Regions from separate parts of the Homo sapiens genome. Here region 2 is linked to region 1. Evidence: promoter capture Hi-C in human tissues and cell types (Jung and others, 2019). All regions are on one chromosome and are shown on one strand. The core of a region is centred on a gene start or on the middle of the fragment in contact, and the rest is flanking DNA. Distances in the headings are between cores, read along the strand shown.

What was found. Contacts are between HindIII fragments. The study calls those that stand out against the background at their distance.
Region 2: a contact is called between a fragment that was not itself captured here and the fragment with the promoter of BRINP3 in region 1, in 2 of the 25 tissues and cell types used here (H1 embryonic stem cells and heart left ventricle).

What each region holds. Positions count from the first base shown.
Region 1 is chr1:190,475,604-190,479,923 of GRCh38, forward strand. It overlaps BRINP3 (BMP/retinoic acid inducible neural specific 3), which reads right to left and starts at 2,261. Exons shown (of 8, transcript NM_199051.3): 1 at 1,845-2,261. BRINP3-DT (BRINP3 divergent transcript) reads left to right here and starts at 2,657. Exons shown (of 3, transcript NR_110716.1): 1 at 2,657-2,889; 2 at 3,479-3,537. The HindIII fragment of the contact is 15,526 bases long and covers 1-4,320 here.
Region 2 is chr1:190,558,160-190,562,479 of GRCh38, forward strand. No RefSeq gene overlaps it. Among named protein-coding and RNA genes, the nearest start is that of LINC01720, 65 kb to the right of the region's middle. The HindIII fragment of the contact is 9,959 bases long and covers 1-4,320 here.

The DNA.
Region 1 (4,320 bases), core at 1,011-3,510:
CCGTTCCCTGAGCTCAGGTGGCATAGGCGTTGCCGTGAGCTGCGGAGAAATCTCCACGCAGAGTCGCCTGTTGATAACCCTCCAGTTAAAACGTTCTTGGCAGCGGGAGCCCCTCAGATGTAAATTTCCCTTTCACACGCTTGAGCTTCAGGTATAATACAGCAAAACGCACTTACCTAAATACTGACTGTCTGTTCCTTACTGGATCTGACTGTACTGAAAGTTTTTTTTTTCTTTTTCTTTTTTTTTTCCTCCCTCCACCCTTGCGCAACAACAGCAGTCCTCCAAAGAGAATGTTTGAATTGAATTATATGAAGCCCTCCTTTCTTCAAATGAAGTCACGGACTCTGATGGCACTGGCTTGTCAGGCAGGACGACCGGACTGGGAAAGAGACCAGGTAGAAACTAGTGACCTAGTGACGGGTGAGGGGCGCCAAGTGGTGCGGACCACAGTCTCAACCCCCGTTCCCTCTCGGTGGGAGTCAAGGGGGAAAAGCCCTTGAATCCCGAGACGGGGGGATGGGGCGACGCTGCAGCTGGAGTACTTTTATGTCTGGGAGCTAAAAGGGCTTTTGAATTTAAAAAAACATTGCTTGGGTTGTCGCGTCAGCCATCAATGACGACAAGAATAGTTATTTCCCAGAAATTAAAAAAAAAAAAAAGGAAAAGAAAAGCGTGAACAATAGGTTCTTACCTCCATGTATCCCAAGAAAAGGAAATGTTGTAGAGACCAGGAACTTGTCCTTAATTTGAGGGCGGGGGGCGGATGTTCAGAGAAAACCCTCAGTGGGTGTTAAAAATTACCGATACATGCAGGTTTGGCATTTAATGAATATCGTGCTTTCCTCATTATGTGTCAATTGTGAAGTAAAAGTAAAGATTAAAATGTTTCTCAACACAACTATACGGAAGAGGAGGTGATAATCTTGTCAGTTAAGTCCATAGAAATGTTCATAAAAGCAAAAGGCACTGACCATATTAACATGCCTATTAAACACAAGGGTTGGGGGCAGACAAGTATGAAGAGTGAGGCAATTAAATTTTTCATGTAAAGTCTATTCTTGAATTTCAATTTATCAGAACCAAGATAATCAGGGGTTTCTTCTGATTGCTCCTCTCTGAAATGAGTACTCTGTGTCCAATTAACTGTTCACCAGCTAATTCACAAAATCAGAAATGTACTGACAAATACTATGCCTGAATTAAAATACAATGCCTAAAATAACGTGCTTATGTGTGATTTGAAATATTTTAAGAAAAAAAAATGGTGCCCTCAAAACTCACAGTCCTCTTCCTACCATTCAGTGGCATTTTAGTGCTTAAGGTCTTGCTAAATTCATAAAAATACACTTTGCAACAAAGTCTTCCTTCAGTCATGTAATTGCTTATCATGAACAAATGCTGACCTGAACAACCTTCTGAATATCCGACTAGCGAACTTTCCAGACCTTGCAATTGTCAGAAGGTCTCTTTTAAGCTCTCTCTTAGATAAACCTATAAAATGTGACATTTCAAATGGCACAGGAATGTGTGCCAAGAAGGGTTAATGGGGGTGGGGGCGATTAATGTCCGTGTAACCCATAATATAAATGAGGACAAATATTTTAAAAATAAAGAAGGTAAAAGATATTGGGGTAATACATGGGATATTGGGGTAATACATTACATGGGTTATGTCTTAGCAGTGCAGTTGCCACTAACATACTAATTAATAAATATGGCCATATGGATCTTTCAGTTCTGAAAGTAACAAAAATGTGAAAAATGAAATACTTCAACAAAACAGAGCTTATTAAAAATAGCAATAGTTAAGTTTCTAGTAACAGATAAAGAGAATAACTTACCAGAGGAAATTTCAGGAAGCAAGAAGACTGTGAGAAAAATACATCCAGGATTCAAATAGATATTCCATGATCTTCCAAATCAAGGTAAAGTAGTGAGCTGCAGGGTAGTAGGACTTTAAAATAATCAGCAGTTCCTGGTGGCATGTAACCAAGTAAAAACCAGTTACACAGAGAGCCACGAACCCCCAAGGCAAGAAAGCAGAATGTGAAAATGCTTTATATGGGGGGGTGGGGAATGGTGGGGGGTGATTCGTGGTGATCCTTAAGCAAAGTGAAAATTTACAGGCTGCACATCCCCATACAGTGGGGAAAGGCAGAAGCTGTGTAACCCCAGAGAACAGGAGGTGGAATACAGATAAATCTGCAAAGAGAAGTAAAAGGATGTGTTGAAGACAACGAGATAAAGAGAGAACTAGTGAGCAAGGCTGTAGTCATCCTGATAGATATAGCAGCAAGAATGATTTAGGCTGCTGGGGAGGATCCAATGAGAATTCAAGAGGGCACCACTTCGGAAATCCTGCTCTGATCTTCCCACTCTCAGTTCTTTAAGAGTTACCTGCGTTGGGACCATTATCATTAGGATTAATAGTATTCCATCAGTGCATTTCACTAGTATTTCCCTTGAACATTTTCACTTGCAGCAACTGAGGGAGGCGTAGTAAGGAAGCCCAACACAACCAATTCCCCCACTCCCCAAATAAACCACTACGACCGGTCACATTACGATGACCAAATCATCAGCGATTTGCACGAGGCGGTGGGGGGTGGGGGGTGCGGGCGGTGATCGAAGGGCTGAAGATGCGGAGGAGGCCGAGTCGCTAGGCGCTTTCGGGGGCGCTGTGCCGGTGAGGCTTAGGCAAGGGGACGGGGAACCGTGGTTAGATGCAGCAGCGGCGGCAGCAGCCCTCCCAGGTCCCACTTCTTTGGCGTTCCTGCTGCCTGTGACTCAAGACAATTGACTTCCACCTGAACCCTCAGCTCCGAACGCCTTGCATTAGAAGCTAGAGCTTTGGAGGTTCTGAGGACGGTCCCTGGGGAGCAAGTGGTAGGTTTCGAGGCGCCCGCTTCCCCTCTGATTCCTGCAGTAACTGAGAGAGAGTGTGCCAGAAATGGCTTTGCTGCCGAATGCATTATCTTGCCATTTTCGTGTCCCAATACTGAACAAACGATCGCCTGATCGATCGGTAAGATTAGCTTTATTCCTTCTCCCTATTCCTCTCCTTGGCCCCATTCCCTCTGCAAGTCCAAACCCCAGTCTCTCTCTCTCTCTCTCTCTCCCTCCCTCTCTCTCTCTCTCTCTCTCTCTCCAGGAACTTCTTCCTCTTTGAAACCGGTTTCCCAAGGGAACTGCCTGTGTGACTGAGAGGCTAGTAATCTGTTTGTAGATGATTTATATTTTGGCTGCAGAATGAATCCCCCTCCCTACTCGGAGTACTCTCCTTAGAGATGATCCCCCGCCCCCTCCCCATGGGTTCGCTCTCAGAGCTGGGATCTGTATAAAGAGCGCTGTGGGAGTCTTTTGCCCTCCGCTCTAGCTCTATCTTCCTCCGGACCCCGAAGCTTAAGAATTATCCGCCTCACTCTCTTTTTTAGAAATAGGAGGGAAAGGTAGAGTGGAAATTGATTTCTTGCAGAGACTGAGGCGCTGAATGATAGAGGGAATAAACATTTGCCCTGGATAAAAATGTTCTTGGTAAGTAATCTTATTTTCTGCGGTTGAAAAAGAAACAGATTGCTTCTCACTGCCCCATCCCCCACTCCATTCATTTATTTGCTCTCTGTATGTAAATCACGAGCTGGGTCAGTGGAAATTTTTTTTTCCTCTTCCCTAGGAGAGTAGTAGCTTGTAAGGGTGAAATTGAAGTAGAGGGTTTTAAGGAGACAATATGAACGCTTTAAGGTCCTTTATATCCTGCATTAAAAACTCAAAGACAGATAAAGCAGTTAAATCCCTGTTTGTTTCCAAAAGTGGTATTTAAGTATTTCCCTTATTTCCTACTAACTGTCTTTCCTTTCTGAAAATAAAGAAAAGAGTTTTAGGTAGTGGGCTCATGTCTATGCTTTTAGTATGTCTTGGCCATGTTCTGAAATACAATTTCAGTTCCAAAATTAAGAATGGTTATTTTTCACATTTCGCAGGTATATTAAAGCTATAGAAACCACTTATTAAATGTGCATCTCGGTTCCAATTATTGCACCAGATACAAATTAGTAGTATCCACAATGGCATATTGTGGTGGTACTACAAATTCATAAAGCCCTCTGGTTTTCCATGAGTCTCTAGCACCCCCAGCCTGTGCACGCTCACAATGTGAAGAGTGGATTGGTGTAGCAGTAGGGAAGAAGCCAAACGGCTCTTGATTGTGCTTACATCATATGTCATTAAGTGTAGAGAATAACATGTTTTGCAAATTGTGTGAACTTGGTTTTCAAGAGTAAGCTGACCATTTTTGATGCACAAAATTAAGGGAGATTT
Region 2 (4,320 bases), core at 886-3,385, 82 kb after region 1:
ACTCAAAAACGGGATTAAGTTTGAAACAAAAAGAATCTTCTCAGAAAAGGAAAAGTATCAATTTATGGGAAAACCTACTTACCAAACATACTAAAAACTGACTGCATTTTCCCTATAAAATATGTTGAATAAATGTAGGTTTTGTGAGTCTTAATTTTTAAAGGGCTAACATGCTTTTGTTCCAAAATTATGATTTTTAAATTAATACACATGTGATCTAAGAAGTTAGTTCTCTGGATTTGGAGAAGAATTTATTAGTAAGATGCTATGGTATTAACATTACTTACCATTTTTAGTATGTCTGTGCTGTAGTTTGGATATTTGTCCTGCAAATCGCAAGTTGAAATTTGATCCCCACTTTTGGACTTAGAGCCTATTGAGAGGTGTTTAGGTCATGGAGACAGACTCCTCATGAATGGCTTGGTGCTGTCCTTGTGGCAATGAGTGAGTTCTCCCTCTATTATTACAGTTCTCAGGAGACAGCTAGGTGTTAAAAATGGCCTGGCACCTACCTCCTTCCCTCTCTCTCTTACTTCCTCACTAGCCATGTGATCTCTGCATGCTGGCCCCCTTAGGTATTTGCCATGAGTGAAAGCAGCTTGAGCCCCTCACCAGAAGCTAAGCAGATGCCCATGCCATGCTTCCTGAACAGTCTGGTGAACCATAAACCAAATAAAATTATTTTCTTCATAAGTTATCCAACCTTAAGTATTCCTTTATGACAAAAATGGACTAAGACAGGCTGTATAAAAATTGGTGTTAATTTATGGTTGGATTCATGACATATTAAGACTATTCATTGCTTCTCACCCACAGAATGTGTACTTCCCTTTTAGGATATATCTAATGAGGTACTGCTTTATTAATTTTGTTTGTATATCTTACCAATATCAAAGAAATATCAAAGTCATCCCCTTAAAATTATTCACCACGTATTTCCATGTATGTATGAGTTTCTTATTGCTGCTGTAAAAAATAACCCCCACTTGAGGCTTAAAATAATGGAATTTTTTAAATTTTATGTTTCTGGAGGGGTCAGAAATCATAAATGGGCCTCACTGGACTAAAATCAAGGTGTTGGCAGGGTTGCATTATTTTCTGGAATCCACTCTCTTGCCTTTTCCAGTTGGTAGCATTCTTTAGTTCCTAGCCATCCTCCTTCTCCAAAACCAACAATGGCAAGTAGAGTCTTTCCAAAGGCTGGTGGAGTCTTTCTGATAACATAGGCATCACTCTGACATCATGCTTCTGCTCCATCTTCCACATGTAAGGACCCCTGTGGTTAGATTGGAATGACCAGATAATCCAGGGTAATCTCCCTGTTTTAAAGTCACCTAATTAGCAATGTAATTCCATCTGTTACCTTAATTCCTCTTGCCATAGAATTTAACTATTTCACAAGTTTCAGATATCAGGACATGAACACATTTGGTAGACCATTGTTTTGCCTTCAATAATATATTTTAATCAAAGTAGTAGATTAAAGAGTATATTTGTAGTAATTAGTTGTTTGTTATTAAATGAAACTTTCAAACGTTCCAATTTAAAAAATTAGAATAGGCCAGGCACATTGGCTCATGCCTTTAATCCCAGCACTTTGAGAGGCCAAGGGGGCAGATCACAGGAATTTGAGATCAGCCTGGCCAACATGGTGGAACCCTGTCTCTACTAAAAATAAAAAAGAATTAGCTGGGCGTGGTGTGGCACACACCTGTAATTTCAACTACTCCGGTGGCTGAGGCAAGCAACTGAATCGCTTGAACCTGGGAGGCGGAGGTTGCAGTGAGCTGAGATCGCACCACTGCACTCCAGCCTGGGTGACAGAGAGACCCTCTCTAAAATTAAAAATAAATCAATTAATTAAATTTATACAAAGCCTCCTAAGGTGTCAGATTCTTTTCTGAGAATATTTTATTTTCTGAAATATATACAGTATAGTGGCTACTACATACTACCTATAAAATACTGTATATACTACCTATAAAATAGTGAGATAACTTGTGGAATTTAACTTACATGTATGTTTAATTTACTCGGTAAAACACAGAGAATAATTCAAAAGCTTTTCATTTACAACATATACAAATGACTTTAGATAATTTGAAAGCAGTATAAGAATGGAGCAAAATTGCTATTATTAAGCAATAAATTCTACATGTTTGTATACACAGTTTTAGTTTTAGTGAACACTCAGCAAAATTTGATGCTACATTACTGCCCACATACTTTTCTCTGTACAATATTTCTCCCAAGTCAGCAATCAATCTATTCTTTCAAATTAATGTTACTTCTAACAAGAGACCAAATCAAACTATGGCCAAGTTCCAGGGATCTTATTTCCTGTTCCTATATACTCTATTGAAATTTATTTGCAGCACTAGCATGCTGATGGCAGTAAATCTGCTTATTTGGAGAGAATATAATGGATGTCATGTAAATAAAAAACACTTATGGGAAAGTGTTATGTGAATACAATTTCTGTTTTGATCTTCAAGATGAAATATTAATGGAAATACTTTTCTAATAATGTTGCTCATTGAAAAAGTAATTAGAATAAAATTCTAACACTCTGTCAAGTGTTTATAGTTGAGGGTTATGTTAGTGATGTCTAAGTTTCCAGTGTGCTAATTTTATATTGCTATTTATACAGCAGGAAAGATTAAAGACAACTCTTCTTTTTTTGATTGTACTCCATATATATCAAAAGAATCATCTGATTACTTACTTCAAAGAGACCCTATTGCCTGAATGTCCTCCTTATGAATATGTTCATGGCAATATTTAATTCATATCTTTAGATTTATTTGCCTATGACATAACAGATGAGCTAAGCCAGATATTGTATTTAAATGTATCAAAAAGAAGGTCAAGTGATTATAATATGTTTTAAATTTACAATTTATTCTCTGAAAATGATTTTGTTTACTGTTCTGCCTATAGAAAACTTTATTCTATTGAAGATATACTTAGTTTTGTTTCAATTTTTCTGAAACCAAACATTCAAATAAATGTGCAAAAATACAATACAAAAATAGAAAGGATTTTTATGCAAATATTAATAATAACAAAAGGAGAAGTGATCGATATTTTAACTTCAAAAAACAGAGGCCCTGTGACCTAAGACTTATATAAATCTATCCTGAAGAAACATCACATTATTTGCACAAATACATATGTACATGGCTGTTCAGTGCACCATCATTTACAGAGTTAAATAATAAAAAAGCTACTTGGAAGTTTCTAAATGCCCAGGACTATAGCTACCCTTCTTCCCTCTATTCTGGCCCTCCTACCATTCACACTGCACACAGAAACAGAATGATTTTAAAAATATGTAAATCAAATAATCTCTACGTCACTGATTTTGAGTTTTCCACTGAATTTAGCATAAAATCAAGTTCTGTAACATTGTTTGCAAAGCTCTGCAAGAGTGGACCCTTAACCAACTCTCTAGTACCTTCTGTTATAATTCATGCCTCCAATAACTTCTTTTTTAACTCTCAAAATAACATATCTCTTAAAGTCCTTTCACCTTTTGTTCGCTTTAATTTTTTCTCTTTCCCTAATTCTTTTGCTGACTGGCTTCTCTCATTTTACATGTCTGAACTCAAATATCAACTTCCTGGGGAGGCTTTCCTTAATCAAATATCCTAAAGTAATTGTTTTACCCCTTATTACTCATTATCATGTAAATATGCTTATTTCTTTTGTAGCACTTTTTCATTCGGAGTTTTTCTATTTGTTTACTTCTTTACTATTTTACCTGCCAGAATATGAGTGTTATGATGAAACAGATTGTGTCTGTGTTGCACCTGAGTTTCTAATGCCCATAGGATTAGAATCAGGATAATGGTATGGCACTTAATAAATAATTGTTGAAAGACTAATATAAATTATGGCTTGTAATCATGGAATCCCAAAGCAGTCTATAAAATATTATGTACATTTGTAGATGCTGGAATTTGAAGATCTCTGAAATATCTTATCAAGTATATAAAAATCTAATTCAATAGTATAAATTTATGCAGCAAATTTTATTGAATACTTCATGCAAGACTTGTAGTAAAACTTCCATTCTAAGATTATTAAAAAGAACAAAAATAAGCACAATATACACAAACTAGAAAAAGCAAACTTATCTTCTATTATGGGGTAAATTGATTTGTATGACAACTATAAACAATAGTTACATATAGATGAACACATTTATATTGCTCATATATGTGTGTTGCTGTAATGAGTAGAATGGCATATTCCAAATGACTAAGGTTATATTTTGGGAAATAAGCAGGTCTTTAGTGAGAGGTGAATTTAATACAG